Linked DNA regions of Homo sapiens: region 1 is linked to region 2. The links are contacts of gene promoters, found by promoter capture Hi-C in blood cells and fetal thymus (Javierre and others, 2016). All regions are on one chromosome and are shown on one strand. The core of a region is centred on a gene start or on the middle of the fragment in contact, and the rest is flanking DNA. Distances in the headings are between cores, read along the strand shown. Region 1 overlaps RBM33 (RNA binding motif protein 33). Region 2 holds the start of EN2 (engrailed homeobox 2).

Region 1 (4,583 bases), core at 786-3,285, 210 kb before region 2:
TCAGGTGTTGGTTCAGCAATGACATCATATTCTTCCAAACACCACTACCAGTACAGCATGGCAGAAGAACTTACCATAGTAATTCCTGACCCACTCTTCTCACCTTCCAAGTGTCTCTCTCTGTGTCATGCAGCACACAGAGAGGCTGTCTTATGCTTAAAACATCAAAAAAGAAATACATGTGGCAAAAGCTTCATAGATGCAAACACGTCACTGAAGACAGTAAAAAAAAGAGCTCGTTCACAAACAATATGAAACAACTGCAATTCATAATACGGTAAACAATAAAACCTAGAACCGTCTCACACCATGACCAAAACAAGTTCCATCATAGCAGAAAGCAAGACAGCTGCCAAAGACATCTAAAGTCATGTCAAATGGACACAGGAGCCAACCTGAAGAAATTCCAGTTGAACAAATATCAGGCAATGTAACCACCAATAAAGATACGAAACGACAATGGATTCAACACAACCAACATTTAAATCTATGATTTCAAAATGATTCAAAAACAAAACTCATCCCTGCAAGTGCTAGGGCTGACTTCTTAGTTTGAAACTTGGTAAACAACAGGAAAGACTCAATCACTTACCCTGTCTTTTCTATGTAATCTCTACCTCAAGAACGAACTAGTTTACAGTACTATTAGGTAGTATATTAGTGTACTAGTACTACAGGTAACAGGAAAAGCAGAGGTATCACCACGCAAAGTTCACCAGCCCCCAAGGAGCTTCCGATGAGGAACACAGCAATACTTACTACACTGCCACACCCCGGCCCCTCCCCCAAGTTCAAACCTGAATCCCATCCACTTCTATTAACTCACATAAAATATCAGCAGCTAAGGGGCACACTAAAAACACCTCAGGGAGTGCAATCAGCAAAAGGAAAAATTCTAGAAGACACGCTACCTTGCTTCTTCAACAAAAATTGCATGGAACTAAAATAAGATGGGGGAGAACCTGTACATGAAACAACACTTGAAAGACATACCCATCAATGACCATGTGCGCCCAATTCAAACCATCAAAAAGCACACAGACACATATCCACACTGTGTAAGTGACAGTATACTAATACATATATTTAAAATATGTGTGTATACATATGTATGTAGATATATATGCGTCTACATACGTATACATAGACACACACACAAATATAAGAGACAATCGGAAATGTAAACACTAAGATATTTACGTAATAAGGAATTTTTTTAGATATAGTAACTATTGTGGCTATATTTTAAACCGTTTATTTTTTAGAAAAATATATTCTGAAATTTTTTCAAAAATTTTGTGATTTGAGGGGGCTGCAGAGAGTATGGATAAGAGATTGGCTATATGCTGATAACTGGTGAAACTGGAAGATGGTACATTGGGTTCACTGTACTAGTCTATTTTCACATATGCTTGAACTTGTTAGTAACTAAAAATCAATCAATTCAATCAATTTCAGGCAGACTGTATAGCTATTTAAAAAAATTACAACTTTCATAGACACATGCAGGAGATATCTAGAATACAAGGAAGGGAAGAATTTCTTAAGGACAAAAAGCACAAACCAATTTCCTGTGCCTCCTGAAGTGGGCACTCAGGAGGCCACACATCATCTACTCTGACCACAATGCACAGCCCGCATTTAGTCACAATGGACCACCAGCAAACCCAAGATAAATGGCCTGTCAACGTCATAAAAGACAGGCTACAGAATTCTTCCACATTAAGAAATGATGAAAGAAAAATGCAATGTATGATCCTGAATTGAATCTTGAATCAGAACAAAAAATTCTTTTGGGGGTATAAAGGAAATTATTGAGACAACTGAAAACAATCTGAATAACCACTGTAGAATAAAAATACAACTGGGCACGGCACACTAGCTCACGCCAATCCCAGCACTCTGGGAGGCCAAGGCAGGAGCATCACTTGAGCCCAGGAGTTCCTGCTTGCTATGATCACGCCACTACACTCCACCTGCGTGACAGAGAAACACCCTGTCTCCAAAACAACAACAATAAACCTCACATATATAGAACTGGATGTCTGATAAACTTCCTGACTTTAAAAATTATACAATATTTATATAAGTGAAAGTTCCTGTTTTGCGGGAAATACATGCTAAACAATACTGAAGCATTCGGAAGTGGCATGACACCTGCAACCTACTGTCAAATGGTACAGGAAAGAAAATTTTACATATACAGTATATCCATGTACGTAAACAATTAGAATGACAACATAAGTTGACAAAAAGCAGTTCATGAGTGTAAGAGAAGGTCAAGTGGGAGTTTCTGTATTATTCTTGCAACTTTCTTGGAAGTCTGAAAGGGTTTCCAAATACATTTTTGTTCATGTTTTAATAAAAAAAGAATAAAAACTACACAGAAAAAAGATTATACATCTGACTGTATTCTTCTCAAAAATCTAGTCAAAGACTATTTTTTAAGGAAACACATGCCACAGACTGGGAGGAGATACTTATAAACAATAAAAATAAATTTCCAGTAAGTATAATATAAACAGTCCCTAAAATCAATAAACAAAAGACAAACAACCCAAAAGAAAAAACAGATATGAACAGACCATTCAAAGAGGAACTCCAAATAATGAGTAAGCTATTGAAAGACCCACTTAATATTTTATTCAGCTCACCATCACAGTCTTTTAATCAAAACTAGCTTTAGTACTTACTAGTAAGACCATTTCTTTTCTAGGAAAGACATCGTTTTTAAGCACTATCTAACTTTTAGAATGCATACTGGCTGATTTTGTGCGACAGCTTGACTGGGATAAGAGATGCCCAGCTACCTAACAAAATATTATTTCTGTGAAAGTCCATGAGGGTGCTTCCAGAGCTGATTAGCAATGAGTCCACAGACTGAGTAAAGAAATCCATCCTCACCAATGTGGGCAGACATTACCCAAAAAGTTGGAGTTGGGCAAATTCACCCTCTTCTTGAGCTGAGCTATCTTCTGCCCTCAGACATGGGTGCTCCTGGTTCTCAGGCCTCCAGGCTCAGATAGGGACTTCCATGACTGGCTCCCCTGGTTCACAGAACACTGGGCTCAGACTGGAACTACACCATTCTACAGACCGTGTAACTTCTCAGTCTCCATAATCACGTGAGCCAGTCCTTCATAATGAATCTTTCTACATATATTCTTTTGGTTCTGCTCCTCTGGAGAATCCTGACTAATACACTGCATGAGTCACTAAAGAGCAATCAGCTTTATGTGAACTGTAAGGGCCTCATAGTTCTCAAGTTAGATTATTCTATAAAACTTCCAGATGTGACACTGCCGTTTTCAAATTGACTGCAGCTTCAAAGTAATTGTTACATTTTCTCAACACAGTATTTAAGGTGTTAAAAAAGTTATAAAGAATAACCATCATTTCTCAGCCCCACCACCCAGATTAAGCCCCACTGTGTATTTCTCCCAGAACACATCTCTAACCTCTATTATTAACTCCTTGCCAGAGGTAACCACTATATCAAACTACCATCTATCATCACTGTGGATTTTTAAATTGTGTTTGTGTGTATTCCTAAACAGGTCATTTTCATCCATTCCTAAACAGGTATTTTCATCTTCACTGGTAACCAGGAAAATGAAAGTTAAAATTAGTGAAATACCATCTACACATATTAGAATGGAAAAAACGTTAAAGTGTAGCCAGATATTCAGTACAAAGTAGAGCTTAAAGAACTCTGGCACAAGGCCACTCCAGTAATGGTTCTGGGTGTCCACAAAGTCAGTATCATTACTGTACAAAAACAAAGAAAAAGGACAGAAGACCTATGATCTATTGGCAGCCCTCCACACAACACAGGCCTGGAACAGGAGCACACCTCAGCCTTCTGCATGGAGAAGCTTCACTTTAGCTCAGGAGGGACAGCCCCACTCAAGAGAGAGCGCCAGGTAGTCAAGGTGCTGCGTTCAGTAAAGATCCCTCAGGAGCCAAGTGTCAGAATGAGAGAGATCGGCACAGGCAGTTAGGTGAAGCACAGGGTGCACGTACCTGTCCCAGTCCTCATCAGCAGCTCTTCTTCTCCACGACCGTTCCGCGCCAGGCTTATCAAACTGGTCAAAGTCATCATCTATGAGAACAGTCCATTGAAGTCAGTTTTACTAAGTTAAAATAGACACAATGCAAATAATTCAAACACTAAAACAACTTTTTTAAGGATTCCTGACTTGACATTTTAAATTACAAAAGTTTCATATGTAACTATCATTTTACTTTAGCCATTTTTAATAATGAAACATCTTTAAAAACACAAAGCTATCCAAGAAAACCAACTTATTGAACATTATTGGGCATGAAAAATCACTAACAGGTTTTCAAAAAAAAAAACCTCAAATGTTATTAAAGTGTTTTCTTTATAAAATGGGTTTTGAGTGTTTTTTTACTGCATGAAAGAAAAAAAATGTGACATGCTAAAAAGTTAGAGACTTTCATAATACTTTTTGTAATCGTCACACTTTTCCAAATCATGGAAAGCTAAGATTCCATTTAAGCAAAATAGAGATAATGCAGAGATGTGCTGAGCAACGGAAATATAAGCACACACCTAATTC
Region 2 (4,173 bases), core at 548-3,047:
GGACTTAGTTTTTTAAAATCGCAGATCTATGAAAAAATATATCCAGCATCTCTGCAGGGCCCCTGCGAATGCTGCCTCTTTCCCATCAGCAGCCCCCAGGAAACCCTGAGAGAAGGTCCTTTCTATTTGGGGATGGCAGGTGCCGGGAGGGACGGCTGCCTCCCTTGTCCTCGCTGTGTGCAGGAAGGGGGCTGAGCCCCACCACTGCGGGCTGGCGCTGGCAAACAAAGTGGAGCCAAGGGGAAAGGGCGCCTTTATTTTCCTCCTTCCCTGTGTGCATCCTCCTGAGTCCCACCGGTCAGCGCAGGCCCGAGGGGCAGAAGGCAGAGCGGCAAAGGGCCTCGCCTTTTCTTCCCCGAGCACAGCCGGGATAACCGGATGGTAGGACAAGTCTGGGGTGGGCTGGGGCATGCGTCCCCGGCCTGGCCTGAGTTGGAAGATCGTAGGGAAGGGGATGAGAGTGTGCACTTCCGGGCCCATCTTCCAGCCACCACGTTCCCACCAAAAAAAACTACAGTGGGGGAGACATGGGCTAGGGGCTGGGAAGAGATGCGCCAAGGCGGGGTGGAAGACAGAGAGGGGAGACAGGGAGAGAGGAAGGAGAGAGAGAGACAGAGAAAGAAAGAAGGTCCCTTCTGCGGTCCTAAGAAGTCTGTACCCCCTAGCGAATCAGTCCTGCCGCTGGACTCCTGGCCGCTGCCCGGGCCGGCGTCAGCTTCACACAATGTCGCGTGAGTCTTTGTGCGTGTGCGCGGGGGAGGTTCGAGATGTTTTCCTCCCGGTAAGTTCCCGCGCCAGCACCGCCCCCCAGCTCCGCGGGCCTCCCCGCGGCGAGCCGGGACGCGTGGTCCCCGCGGGCTCACCTGAAGAAGGCCGGTCCGAGTAGCGCGTACAGTAGACCCACGCCGGCCAGAGCATGGGCTGCGCGCCCAGGTTGGCGCCGGCTTGCGAGCTGTCCGAGTCCGAGCTCACCGACAGGTCGCCGCCGCCCAAGCCGCGGGCCTTGAGCGACCCGTCCAGGGGGCCGCCGGGGTCGCCGCCTTTCTTGGCGCCACCGTGCAGCGAGAGCGTCTTGGAGCCGCCTTCCCCGTCACCCGGAGAGTCGCTGCCGGCGGCTGGGAGCGGCCCGCCCGCGCCGGGCGCACATGGCGGGTTCTGCCGGGGCTCTCGGGAGCCCGAGCCCAAGAGCTGCTCCGAGCCGCCCGCGCCGCCGCCTCCCTCCGCACCGCTCGCGCCGCCTTCGCCGCCGGCTCCGCCGCCCCTTCCTCCTCCCGCGCCCGCACAGCAGGTCCCCGCGTCCTTTCGCCGGCCGAACTCGGGCCGCAGGATGTTGTCGATGAAGAAGTTGGTGATGCGGTGCGGGTGCTGGTGGTTGCCGGGCGCCTGCAGGACCGCGGGCAGCATCAGAGCCCGCCGGCGCCCGGTGTCCGCTTCGCCCGGGCTGCTACCGCCGCCGCCGCCCGAGCCGCCGCCGGGGCTGGATTCCGGCTGCCGCTGTCCCTCCACCGCCGCCGCTGCTTCGCCAGGCTTGGGGTCATTCTCCTCCATGCTGTTCACAGTAAATCCCACACTGGTTCTCCGGGGACGCCCTTCCAAATCAGCCTTCGGCCCTCCCGCGGCGCACACGGAGACCCCCGCGCCCCCACCCCGCCGAGTCTTCCGAGGGCGTGCGCGGCGGCCGCGGCCAGGGCTGAGGTCCTACAAGTCGCCGGCCGCGCTCGGCGCGGAGCCACCTTTGAATCCACGAACTGGGTTAGAAACACCACGAGCCGCCCCGCTCGCCCAGACGATGAGAGATTCAACAGAGCCAAGTCCTCGACTTCGCCGCGCAGCCGGGGTCTAGACAGTCGCAGTGGTCCGGCGGGGACGCGGGCCGCCTCCCGGGCTCCCCGCTCCTCTCCGCGTCCGGCCGCCTCGGGCTCCGGCGCCGCCGCCTGGGCCGCCCGGGGCGAGAGCTGCGCGCATGCAGGCAGCGCGTTCCCCGGCGCTCACGCCCGCCCGGGCCGGCTCCGGCCGCCGCCGCCGCCCGGCCGTCCCCGCCCGCACGCCCTAGCCGGCCCTCGAGGGTGCCGGGCGCCCGCGGTCAGCGCGCCCGCCACCGCCCGCACGCACATGGAGGCCCCCTCCTCGCGGCCGCCGCCCCGCTGCGGGCCGGGGCGCCCCACCGGCGTGCGGCCGCGCCCCCGCCGAGCCCCGCAGAGCTCCGCGGCCCGAGTCGCATGGGTGAGAGACGCGAGGCCAGGGCCCGGCCGGGCCGGGCTGGGCCGCCCGCGCTCCCCGGCCGTCCGCCGCCCTCGCCGCCTCGGCCTCCGCGCGGGCTCGGAAATTTCCAGGCCACTCGGCGCAACCTGAGACACTTTCACTCTGGATTTTTGTTCTTATTTTTAACAGAGCCCCCTCGAGTGACGTCGCAGGCCGGTCTCCTGGACACGTGCCTCGGGCCAATGGCCGCGGCGCCGCGCGCCCACGTGACGCTCCGGCCGCCGCTGGGTGACAGGAGCAGCCCGCCGCCCCTCCTCCCCTTAAAGCGGCCGCGTCCCCCGCTCCGGGTGCGGGAGCCCAGGAACCCGGAGAGACCCCCGACCGCGTCTCCTGCGCTCGCCCGCGCTTTCCCTGTCGCTTCGCGGTTCAGGGGTGTGAGTCACCCGGCGACAGCCCCGCCAGGTCACCCCGGGGCGCGTAGGTGGACACGCACAGGAAGATCGCTATTTTTAAGATTTCCATATTGTTTACCGTGGGGCGAAATCCCACAATTCCTTGCACAAAATGCATAAATAATATTAAATGAGCTGCCGAGATACAAAGGGACTTTTGTGGTCCGCTTTCCTTGCTGATGGAGAGGAATAGTGTCACTCCCATTTGACTCGGTAACCCGGCAGCTTCCTGTCTTAAACGCAGAGCTGGCGCGCAGGACACTCCTCCTGCAGACACTTATTGTAAGTGTGCGTGTGTGTGCGTGTGCAGGGAGGCGCGTGCATACGGCCGCATTCCACCCGGGGACAGCGACCCTCATGAAACATGCTTAGCGATCCGAAAGAGCGGGGGAATGCAGTATGCGGCTCCATTTGCGAAGGGAGAAATCCAGGAGCCTCGGAGGTTCTAAAGGAATCCTTTTTGCCAAGGAGAGGAGGGGTGACTGTTCAGCTAAGACTTCAAAACCAAGTCGCCCGCCCCCCTCTAACTTCTCTACTCTGATTGAGGAGCTCCCAGACCGGTCATCTCGTTTTCTTTGTTTTAAAATCCTTTAAACTAATTTTGCCGGAGAGCAGGGCCCATTTGAAACGAGAATTAGGAATCCAACGGCAAGGGTGGGAGCCCCAGTTGGTTTCTCCCCTCCTCTCTCTTCATCTTTTCTAGACTTTCCTTCCAGCTGTTGTCAGAATGTCCAACTGGAAGTTCTGTTTCCTCTTCTCTTCCCCCTCCTCCCTCGGGCTCCTTCCCATTTGCTCTTGTCTACCCACCAAACACCCGTTGTTACCCCAGGCTCGCCTGTCCATCATTTAAAATGCATTTTTATGGAAATGTGTGAATTCCTGGAAACATCCGATAGGGCAGCTCTGGGGGTGCGGGAGCATTTGCACGCCATGAGTACCCTCAGTGCGGGGGAGGCGGGGAGGCCGCAGCCTGGCACGGACACCCTAGGGCTGATTGGCCCTGGGCAGCTGCACCGTGCTCAGCAACCCAGACCCCCGCAGAGGCAGCCAGCAGGTTGCTGCCAGGCCCTGAGTGAACTTGGGGAGTCTGGCAAGCATCTCCGAGGCAGCGTGGCCTGCCAGGCCACCTGGGGCCTGAAGGTTGCACCCTGGCCTTGCGAAGCTCCTTCCCCAGTGTCCATCCCACGTGCTGTCCTTCCCCTGCAGGCTTCAGAGTGCTGGCTGGGCTGGGATGAGAAACGACAGTTCCCACAGCTGCTCCCAGGAAAATTACCCCCCCACCCAGGACGGGAATGGTGGGGGAGGAGGTGCTGGGCTGGCCTCCTGGCCACTGGACGTGGCTCTGGTCAGAGTGTGCCCTCTGTCCGGTGTGTCTAGGGCAGGGTGGGGAAGCCTCTTCTCGCTGGGGCTGGATTCCTCCACTTTTTCTTCATTGGAGGAGTCCTTACCAAATGTTCTGGCTAGGCACACATCTGCCAGGGGTCCTCCCCGAGTCTCAAAAAATCAAACCCCACAGTCT

The links. The method cuts DNA at HindIII sites, captures the fragments that hold promoters and counts their contacts. A CHiCAGO score of 5 or more calls a contact.
Region 1: a contact is called between a fragment that was not itself captured here and the fragment with the promoter of EN2 in region 2, in 1 of 17 cell types (neutrophils). The highest score is 5.1, in neutrophils.

Annotation. Positions count from the first base shown.
Region 1 is chr7:155,664,694-155,669,276 of GRCh38, reverse strand. RBM33 (RNA binding motif protein 33) reads right to left here. Exons shown (of 18, transcript NM_053043.3): 2 at 4,024-4,102. Among named protein-coding and RNA genes, the nearest start is that of RBM33, 22 kb to the right of the region's middle. The HindIII fragment of the contact is 3,684 bases long and covers 194-3,877 here.
Region 2 is chr7:155,455,753-155,459,925 of GRCh38, reverse strand. It overlaps EN2 (engrailed homeobox 2), which reads right to left and starts at 1,797. Exons shown (of 2, transcript NM_001427.4): 1 at 864-1,797. The coding sequence starts at 1,548. It overlaps EN2-DT (EN2 divergent transcript), which reads left to right and starts at 2,808. Exons shown (of 3, transcript NR_186580.1): 1 at 2,808-2,936. RefSeq lists an enhancer at 2,144-3,135. The HindIII fragment of the contact is 14,368 bases long and covers 1-4,173 here.